Linked DNA regions of Homo sapiens: all the other regions are linked to region 3. Evidence: promoter capture Hi-C in human tissues and cell types (Jung and others, 2019). All regions are on one chromosome and are shown on one strand. The core of a region is centred on a gene start or on the middle of the fragment in contact, and the rest is flanking DNA. Distances in the headings are between cores, read along the strand shown. Region 1 has its middle 46 kb from the start of SMIM21. Region 2 overlaps LOC107985177 (a long non-coding RNA gene). Region 3 holds the start of SMIM21 (small integral membrane protein 21).

What was found. Contacts are between HindIII fragments. The study calls those that stand out against the background at their distance.
Region 1: a fragment that was not itself captured here is called in contact with the fragment with the promoter of SMIM21 in region 3 in 1 of the 25 tissues and cell types used here (adrenal gland).
Region 2: a fragment that was not itself captured here is called in contact with the fragment with the promoter of SMIM21 in region 3 in 2 of the 25 tissues and cell types used here (lymphoblastoid cells and spleen).

The regions. Positions count from the first base shown.
Region 1 is chr18:75,379,813-75,383,336 of GRCh38, forward strand. No RefSeq gene overlaps it. Among named protein-coding and RNA genes, the nearest start is that of SMIM21, 46 kb to the right of the region's middle. The HindIII fragment of the contact is 5,378 bases long and covers 1-3,524 here.
Region 2 is chr18:75,460,951-75,464,698 of GRCh38, forward strand. LOC107985177 (a long non-coding RNA gene) reads left to right here. Exons shown (of 3, transcript XR_001753505.2): 3 at 3,619-3,748. Among named protein-coding and RNA genes, the nearest start is that of SMIM21, 35 kb to the left of the region's middle. The HindIII fragment of the contact is 3,774 bases long and covers 1-3,234 here.
Region 3 is chr18:75,426,079-75,429,544 of GRCh38, forward strand. SMIM21 (small integral membrane protein 21) reads right to left here and starts at 1,625. Exons shown (of 3, transcript NM_001037331.3): 1 at 1,357-1,625. The coding sequence starts at 1,485. It overlaps LOC105372200 (a long non-coding RNA gene), which reads left to right. Exons shown (of 4, transcript XR_935636.3): 4 at 1-583. The HindIII fragment of the contact is 8,486 bases long and covers 1-3,466 here.

The DNA of each region.
Region 1 (3,524 bases), core at 52-2,551, 47 kb before region 3:
CAATCCAAGAGTGTCAAGGTCAACTTAAATAGAATGGGTTTGCTTTACTGGGAGGTAAAATAAAATGTTCCTCTTTCAATTACTAGAAAATGCCATTGGATTCAACTGTAGCAGTTTTGGTGTTTCCTTCCTGTAACAGCTCTCCTGCTAATCATGTTTCTTTCTCATATCGCTTCCTGTTCGCTTACAGCCCATTAATTGATCATTAAAGTCCTCCTCAATTTCATTGAGTACCCAACTTCCCTATTTTGGTGTCCTCACAAGGCAAATGTTTACAAGATTGTTATTTTTCTTCTTCACTTAAAAAATGAAACTGACCCATCAATTTCTGTGAATCTTTCTGCCACCCTCCCTAAAATCCACTTTACTTTAGCCATGTCTATGGTCTACTAGGGCAAATATTCAAAAACCTCTAAGCTACTTAAAAACTAAAACCAACTTTATTGATGTACAATTTACATTCCATCAAATAGTTACCTGTTTTCACTGTACAGCCCAATGAATTATAGGAAATTTACATAATTGTGCGACCATCACCATAATCTAACTTTAGAACATTTCCATCAAACCCCACAAAGAAACTCCATGCTCATTAGTAGTCATTCCCCCCTTTGGCTACCCAGCCCTAGCCAACCACTGCTGTAATTCCTGTCTTAATTGGTTTGCCTATTCTGGACGTTTCAAGTAAACAGAATCAAATAATTTGTGGTTTTATGTGTCTGGCTTGTTTCACCTAACAATGTTTTTTGAGGTATATCTGCGTTGTAGCTTGTATCAGTACTTCATTCTTTTCCATGGCTGAATAGTATTCCATTGTATGGATATAGCACATTTTATTTATCCGTTACCAGTTGATGGCCTTTTAGGTTGTTTCCACTTTCAGCCCTAATTTTACCCAGGTGCCGGACTACTTGAATAAGTCCATTATTATAAATCCTTCTTTCTCTGTTACAGGCCATACAGCTTGTCTATTTCCAGGAAGCCCGGAGGTCCTCAAGCACATATGTATTTAAAACCTCCTCTTTCCGGTCCTCATTTCCTTCAGATCATCCTCCTAATGCCTCTCCAGCTTGTGGTCTGTAATTAATTAAGTCAACCAAATAATGTATTTTGTATAAAAAAGCCAGGAGATAAAACTGATTGCTTGATTTAAAATTGGTCAAAGAGATGAACAAAAATAATTAACGCAACCCATCCCTGGACAGCACAACCCTAAAATCACTTCTGCTCCCTGATTTGTACATCTTTGCTCACTGACCATCTGGACCTTTCTCTTAAATGCTGACTGCAAATGTCTCTCTAATATAGCAAGCTGCTGAAATCTTTAGCCAAGGATCTTCCCGCTAATTCTGAGCATGTGATGTTATTGAAGACTGGCCTCTGCTCTGCCTCTGACACCAAGTCCCCATCTGGGTTCCAAGGAAGGCTGCTCTGTTTGCTTGCATCTAGTTTGAGTTCATTAGGATCTGAATATTTTTGCACTAAAAGAAATAAAACATATTTTGGAGTAGTTAGAGCATCTTGGAGAGTTGAATTTTGGGAACATGTTTGTGCCTTCTCACTTCCCATAATCAGGAAGTTGCTGGAACCAACGATGTTAACGTGTAGCTTTGAGACATGAGTCCTGCCAAAACTCCTCCGTGTGAACTGCTGCCTTCCACGTCCAACCGACATGGCTTTCCTCTCTCCAGGTTTCCTTCTGGATCACCAGGTCACTCCCTGTCAATGTCCTCAAGAGCCAACCTAGAGGATTATCTGTCCTTCAGGAGGAAATCAGGCCAGGAGCAGTAACTGAAGATGGGAGCTTTGTTTGTTGTCTGTTTTCTGTGATTACACCAGGGTCACAAAAGTCACAATGGTGAACTCTGCACAAGAAGGGCTATGGTTTATCCCTGCCTCAGCTCTCGCTGGGCCTCTGCTCGAGAGCTCGCTGCCCCAAAGATCAGCCCCAAGATGGGGTCTGTTTCTTTCCATTGATGAATCTCTTCTCAATGTAGCCATTCATGACAAAAATGGCTACAGGAACAGAAATGGCTCCAAATGAAGCCATTCTCATGACAAAGACGGTAATGAGGACCAAAAAACGGCACAAAATCAATTTATTCTCATGACAACCTTAAGATTGTAATGAGGACAAGAAAAACAGTCTGAAATTTATCAATTCTTGTGACAACCTTGAGACAGTAACGAAAGCGGCAAATGGTATGAAATTGGCCCACTCTCTTGACAAACAGTGAAACAAAACCGGAAAATAGCACCACATTTACCTACCCTATAGACAGCCCAGCGACTGGAACAAGAAGAGAAAAGATTACAAGATTAACCCATTCCTGTCAAAAATAATCTTGAAAGGGTAGCCTCCCACATGTCCTTTAACAATGACCGCATCTAGGTAGAGTTACATGTTAACTCCAGACTTTGCTGTGAGATGGAATTCTTGTTCGCTTGGATTCCCAGTTGACAGTCACGTTTCTTTAGGATCTGTGAAAATTAACTTGTACTGATATTACGGGCTAGGCAATGCGACAGTCACTCTAGATCAGCTTTTATTTGATGGTCTTAAAGTGCTCTCTCAGTCTGGACTTATTAAAAGGATAACGCATAAGGCATATAAGCATTGCAACAGTGATATGGACAATCATTCTAGAAATACCCACGAAAGTGACAAGTGAAAGGGACGGGGAATGGAGGCAACTTTCCGAGTCAGTGGAACAGTTGCTGCTGCATATTCCATAGAAAAATGGAGTTTTGGGGTGTGTGTTACTGAACCAGTATCTGTTCCTCAACCTCAATTTAGCTTTCTCATGCATGTAGGAACTCACAGATATTCTCAAAGAAGACATTGGAGAAGAAGAGCTCCTCAGCAGAGTGAGCATTCACTACAACACAGCTTAATGATTTGGGATCACCTGGTTGCTAGTTAATAATCCAGATACGTGATTTAGTAGGTCTGGAAGTGGAGAATACCAGGAATATACACATTTAAAAAAGAAAATGTCATTTTTGAGCATGCTGAAGTTGGAGAAGCATCAATTTATTGTGTGCAAAGGTACTGGTTTGCAGAAGCTGGATTTATGATTCCTAATCAAAGACTTCACTCACTAATTCCTTCCTGCTAAAACTGCTAAGTTCCATCCTTGACATCACTGATGAGTAAGTAGCAGAGGGCCAAGTTTTAATGTCAATTCAAGTGCCAGTCAGCTTTTCCAGGGCTTATAATAATTATTGATGAGTGATTGAATGACAGAGATTGGAAGTAATGGCTTGCTTTGCTTGGCTGGCAAGTACAGAGATAATAAAGAGACGGAAGTCTCTCCTGTCTGACTGCTGGTTTTCATTACATGAAATGTGAAGTGGTCAAGTCTTTTTCTTTGTCTATCTGCCTATTTACTGTTCCAATTGATTTGGTAGGTGTTGAGTGATAAGGAAGGAGAATATTTTTTGTTCCCTGAGAGTAGATCAATTTCTTCATTATTGCATTCCTTAAACAATTGGATGCTAACTTGAGTTCTAACATTTTTTGT
Region 2 (3,748 bases), core at 98-2,597, 35 kb after region 3:
TCAGCATCTCTGTCTACCAGTCGTAGGATATAATGACCCCTGTCTTAGTCCATTTGGGCTGCTATAACAAAAGGCCATAGGTTGTGTGGCTTATAACCTACAGAAATTTATTTCTTACAATTCTGGAGGCTGGGTACAGTGCCTGGTGAGGCCCTGCTTCCTCACTGTGTCTTCACATGGCAAAAGGGGTGAAGGGGCTCTCTGGTGTCTTTTTATAAGGACAGGAATTCCAATTATGAGGGCTTCACCCTCATGACCTAATCACCTCGCAAAGGTCCCGCCTCCTAATAAGATCACATTAGGGTTAGGATTTCAACATATGAATTTTGGGGGGACACATTCAGCCCATTATAGGGATTTGATAGTCCCCATGGTTAGTATCTTACCTAATCAATCTTACCTAATTACCCCTAGATGCAAGATACCAAGGCATTTAAATATGTCTCACAGAGTTGGGTTTGACAGTCAAATAAAACCATTAGATTTGTAAGTTAAGTGTTAGAAAATTATAACAACTATTCCCCACCTTCCTTCATGAAGGTAGTGGAAAACAGAAGCAAGTCCAAGTCACCTTGTCCTAAATGCAAATGAATTTCTCAGAAAATTGAAGAGGATGAGAATAATGCTGTGAACTGAGATGCTTCTCAACCTTCCCTCCCTCCCTCCCTCCCTCCCTCCCTCCTTTCTTCCTACCCTCCTCATGGCAAAGGAGAGAGTAATTGCCCAGCATATGCAAGCAAAGCCCATGGCAGCCCGGAAAATGAAGATTTTTTTTTTTTGGCACAAAATTCATAGCGATTTGACATCAGGATTCCAACATGTCTAGCTGTATTTTAACAAAAAAATAAAGATTCAAGTAACTCATTAGCTAACTGGCCTGACCTCCTAGCCCTTCATCATGTTATCTGTGTGGCTTGGTTTTCCAGCCTGCAGGTGAGGCTCACCACGTGGCAGCTCCTCTTAGATAAACTATCAGCCAGGCACCCAATAAGCATGCAATTGAGGTCATTGAGAAAGTAGGGAACATGGACACATGGACACATATGCAACCATCCACACATGCACACATATGCAACAACCTACACATGTACACGATACACAGGCAATGCAAAGTGGCCTATGCATGCACACATAGATGCCCTTGGCTCCACTGGTTGGAGGAGTAGCTACACTGTGAAAGGCAAAAGAAAAACATTTAGTTGCCCTCAGGCAGGGAAGCAGAGTTAACTTGATTGGAGCTCCCCTCTACCTGAGACTCTGGGGAAGGTCAGATACACACACCCATGTTTACTGTGCAGATCCACCGTCACTTTTCCCATTGAGGGTGATGCCAGTGGGCCAGTGTTGTTGTTCTTCATTGTTTTTCCATGCTTCGGTGGTAGATGGGGTGGAGCCACCCCTCTGGGGAAGCCCAGTGTGCTTAGACATGGCGGGAGCAATCTCTTCCTGGGCAAGAGGGCGCTGTTACTACGGGATTAGCCTGTCTATTATTTTTGGGTGTGCACAGGGTGACAAATTAGGAAGGGTGTGCTCAAAGGTTATTCAAATATTTCAAATAAAGCATATTTGAGCACGGAAAGGCCAGGGAACATTAATCAAATGTCAGCACCAAGACACTTTGTAGGCTATTTCTGGTATGTGTTTGCTGAGCGGCAGTCTGGCTTAGGCTCTGTGGGACATGTGATCACCCCAGTGTGAAGAAACGTGGAGCATTATGCATGGGAGGCCCTGGAAGCACTGGGAATTTGCAGATGGAGTGCAGTGGACAGGATGTGTTCCGAAACAGCCCGGAGTCATTCCTCTGAAGCAGATACAAAGGGATGTAGGATTGTGTTGACTGACAAGGCCAGAGTCTATTTCCATTCCTGCCCCTCTTGGGAAGTTAGATTAAAGGGGGAAATATTTTGCATAAAAGTGATTTTAACAGAGTAATGACTGAAATGATAATATGCCGGCGATGGGCATCCATCACAGTAATGAAATAGCCTCCTATAGGAGTCCTGCAACTGGCCGTTTCCCCCCAGAAGCAGTGTTCCCTCTCCACATCACCCTCTTGGATCCTTTCTGATCTGCCTCACTGAGGCTTCCTTCTTCAGAAAGCCAAGCGAGCAAGCAATATTGCCTTTCTCTCCTTCAGCTCCTATCAAAACAGTGCAGCAGCCCCAGTCACAAACTCAAGAGTCTTTTGACAGCAGCAATTAAGCAACTTAATTAATGAGTGAATAAAAACGATAATATTTACTGAATGGGAGCATCCTGTTTTGCATTTTTATTCAAACTCTGCACCTGAAGAACACCACTAAGGAAAGCTCCCCATCCCCCTGTTGTAGAGACAACCCCCTCTCTGTCTCTCTCTCTCTCTCTCTCTCTCTCTCTCTCTCTCTCTTCCTTTGCTCTGTCTCTCTCTCTCTTGCTTCCTTTGGTTCTGGCCTCATAAACACCCCAAGGGTAAAACACACACAGTGTAAGATTCACACAAGGCTAATCCCTGTCCTCTTTCCGGGGGAATGCACTTCTATCTTTGTCATGGTCTTTGTTCACCCCTAAAAATCCTCATTCATACATGAAGGACAATTTCATGATACTTTTCTGAGGCTGAACTTTACATCAAAGTGGGTGATTAATTACTGATAAGGGTATAATAAAACATTAATGCATTTTGTAATTAACCAGCTTAGGAATGACATCTCCCATCGCTTCATGAGTGACATGTTCACACACACACACATACACACACAGAACTTTTTTTAAAAAATTCTTTATTTGGCTATTAATCTCAGCAGTGCCCTCAATACATTACATTCTTTTTAAAAGCCACATATATTTTCCTCAATGAAATATCTAATCCATCTTGAGTGTAAGGAAAGCCCATACATAATTATTCCGTCGTGACAGACAGTGAGCTTTCTCGCTATTATTTTTGATGGTGCTGTCATGGATGCCAAATGTATGTTGTGGTGGGAGCCAGCCAGAGTCGGGAACCCACCTGGAGAGCGGCTCCTTTCTTCTCTCAGGAAAGGTTCCCCACGCCTGACAGCCCCACCATTCTGGTTAAGCTTAATTAGTCAAGAGAGAAAAAGAACTGACTTCGGAGTGTTGTGTTACGTTTGGGGCTCCCCCCTTTTTTTCCCCTTTCCACTCAAAATTTGACATTCTTTGGAGAAGATGAAGTTCCAAGTGGGATCTGTGTTGGCACTTCCCACCCTCTCGTCATCCTCACGTGGGACCCGCTTCTCACGGCCCATCTTTTGTCTACCAGGGGCCTCGCAGGACTCTGCACAGCCCGCACAAAGGACGTAGGATTCTGCACTGGCAGAACTGGATGTAATGTTGCCCTGAGAAACATTCATTTATTTCAGAGTGAAACCCGTTAAAATGGAAGTGTGTAGGATTTGGGTTGGCTGGATGCAAGCTTCCCTCTGCAGCGGGATGAGGTACGCTGGGTCCCCGACATTCACAGCCTCCCACTTTCATGCCCCTTGGCTTCTCAGGCCTGTGCCTTCCCGCATGCACACTGGCCTTGGGCAAGCGACTTGTCCTGGCCAAGGGGACGGGAGTCACATCCATACTTGCCGGCTTTAAAAATGTGCTTTTGTGTTTCCGCTTGCTGTCCTGGAGGCTGCCACTACCAGGAGCACGCTGGCCTGCCGGCGGGAGGAACAGATGCCAGAGGAGACCTGACTGTGTCCTCAAGGCCATGCCCCATCAGCCATCCCAGCAGAGCCCACAGCCACCCACAGAGGAATGA
Region 3 (3,466 bases), core at 375-2,874:
CAGCACACACCGGCCTAGTATTAATTCATAACCATCATCATGTACCTAAGATTCTACCTACCTGGATGTTGATTGATGAAATTTATAAAGTATTAGAAGGACTTCAAATCGACTTACAACTATCACATATGAAATGCACAAAACCAGCTTTTAAAGCCTTCTATAATTTGTTTAAGACTGAAGAACTTTAAGACCATTACTTTTATTTATTTATTTGTTTGTTTGTTTGTTTGTTTGTTTGTTTTTTGAGGGACAGAGTCTCGCTCTGTCACCCAGCCTGGAGTGCAGTGGCACAATCTCGGCTCACTGCAAGCTCTGCCTCCCGGGTTCACACCATTCTCCTGCCTCAGCCTCCCAAGTAGCTGGGACTACAAGTGCCCGCCACCACGACTGGCTAATTTTTTGTATTTCTAGTAGAGATGGGGTTTCACTGTGTTAGCCAGGATAGTATCAATCTCCTGACCTTGTGATCTCCTCGCCTCGGCCTCCCAAAGTGCTGAGATTACAGGCATGAGCCACTGCACCCGGCCCTAGACCATTACTTTTAAAATGTAAAAAAAAAAAAAAAAAAAAAAAAAAAAAAAAAAAAAAAATGGAAAAAGGAAAAGGAAATAAAGAAGCAGCAGTGGGGATCAAGACAGAGGAAGGAGATGCTACCTGCCTGCTCCCATCCATCTCCTCTTCACAGTCAGAAACACTAAGAGGAACCCTGTGCTACAGGAGAAGACATTCCAGAAATTTTGTCTTAGGACTTTAACCTTTCCGATATATGACTGGGTCATAAACTTCCTTTTCAGAAGCTATTGATCACCCCATCACCTCTGCAAATGGGGTGTCTATAAATGCCATCTGTTGCCTGCACATTGGCTACTGGTTCATGAATGGTTAAATTTGTTGCAACTTTTGCTTCTGTCCTGTAATGAAGGAAAAGAAACTTTCTTCTAGGAGTGCAGTATCAAATTTGTCTGGGTAGGTTGAGTTTGTAGGTGTTGCAGGTGCACCTAGGCTTAAAGCATTTGGAGGTATCCTTGCATCTGTGTTAAGAGGCTCTCTCTGTAGGGGAGAGATCATTGACTCATTGGCCTGTATACTGATGTAATGTCAAGGGGAGGGCCCAGTACCTTTTCTGAAAGGGGCAGCTCTTCCTCAGATTGGGAATTGGAATTGGGAGGTTGTCTTGGCCAGAACTGAGAAAGAAAGAGCTCTGGATTGACGTCTCATCTTAAACTTCGTAGAATCTGGATTTGAGAGACAGAGCACTCACAGGAGATTGGGGCAAAAGAGTGCTTTGTAGGACCATACCTGTGCAGTGATACGTCTCTCTCATAACCCAAAGTTAAAGACCCATAAACTCACTGTGGTAAGTGCTTTCTTCTGCAGCAAATTCCCCTTGAATATCCGTCCCATTCCTGCAGAGTCTTGTTTAAATGTTCCCAGCTGTGCTATAGGGAATCGGGGAGGAGCTGTGGACACATACTGGTCCATGTGGGGGCTGCGGCGGTGACCAGTGAGAGGTCTCCTTGATGACAGCGACTCTGAGGACACAGAGCTGGTGCTATAAGACCTGGTAACTAAGTTCCCAAGGAGCTTTTCTCTTCTTTGCCAACCTTGAAGATCTGGGTATTATTTTATGAAGCTGGATGGAATCTTCCCACATGTAGAGTTCTCAGGTCCAGGTATTATTTTATGAAGTCGGATGGAATCTTCCCGCACATGGAGTTCTGAGGTTTCTCAGGTTGCTCTCTGGCTCAGTGATGCTGTGTGAGAATGTTCAACCATATCTCCACAGCACAAGCTTTGGATCTGATGTCAAGAAGCTTTTGTGAATATTAAAAATGAACCGCATCTCCCTGAATCAAAATAAATACTACTATATGCACTTCAATGGAAATAAAATCTGGGATTCTTTTTGGGCCCTAAGCAAAATGTAGAAATTCATTTTCCCATCAGACTTTTCAGTAACTTTCTTTTAACCTAATGAGACACTCCACAGGAGACTAACATTTCTTTCGCTGAATTCCAAGTGTAGGTTTCCTGGGTTGTCCATTTAATTGTTAAAGTGAGAGAGATTCTGCTGGAAGACAAGCACCATGGAACAGCAGGAGGAAAGCTGAATGGAGGTTACTTGGGAGCTACCCCAGGAAGAAGCGCTGTGCAGACCATCATCGCAGGGTGGAGAGTAGCCATGAGACGTGTGTGGTGGCCTCTGGATGCTGCTGTGCTGCCTCATGGGAATTTTCACAGATCTTCCACTGTTTGTAAATGGTGCCCAATGAGCGGAAAATTAAGTGGTACTTAACACACACACGTTCACCAAATACTTGCAGCGTTATCCCCATAGTGTGGATGGCTTTTGACAAGGTGCCTGATGAAGAGAGATGCACATAGTTGTGAGTCCCAGCCTACAGAAGCTCATGATGGGTGCTCCACAGTGTTGGTGTTGAGTAAAAATGCCCAGGACAGTATGCACTGTGCTTGACGCACAGTATGACTAAGAAAATACCTGTTATTATGTGAACAGTGACCATATGCACAGCATACAAATCAGTAGCCCAGTGCTGTTCTGATGGTCTTGTCCTGAGTGGTTTTTCCCATCTAGTTGGAGACAAGACTCATTCTCTAGAAAGAAGAGCAAAAAATGGTGGGTCCCACCAAGGCCATGGACAAGGGAAAGGCAGAAACGTGCAGAGGGAGCAGAGACAGAGGAGGCTTGAGACCTGTGTGGAGGGACAGGAAGGGAGCTCGGAAGCCCGTTTTGTAGCAGATCCCAAATTGTGAAAGTTGATAGTTGTGGAGCACACATATGCAGAGTAACATCTAGAATTCTCAGAGTTGGTGATTTAAAGAAAAGAGAAAAAAAAAACACTGACTAAAAATTAATCTTCAATTTCCCACAGGCCTTAAACTTCCAGCTGCTAAAAGACAGTGGGGTGTAGGGGGTGGAAAGAGACCTCATCTAGGAGGGACAGCTTGGTCTATGACAGTTGAGACAGGTGCCAAGGAGGGACGAAGTTGCTCTCTGCCAACTAGACTTAGGGGAAAAAACAACCATAATCATGTTTATTTTCATGATAAGCATATGCAAATCAGGCCACTACAATCTGTAAACATGGTAATTCCTCTTTATGGATAAGTTCAACTTAAAAGTTGTGAACAAGAGCAAAAGGATATAGTTTTCTAGTTTTCTAATGAGCTCAGAGTTTATGCCCAGTTATAGTTGAGCTCTGGAATGGTTTTTCTAGCTCTTCCTGTCCTTCTGTAGTTCTGGTAGAGAACCTATGAGGACCAGAAACAGAGCAAAGGCGGTTTAAATCCTGGCTGAACCGATTGCCCTCCACATGACCTAGGACAATTGACCCAACCTTTGTAGGCCTCAGTTTCCTTTCCTACAAAATAGGCAGGATAACCAGGAGGTCAAAGTGAAGTGACAAGATGTGAACCTGCTCTGTAAGATAATAAGCACTAT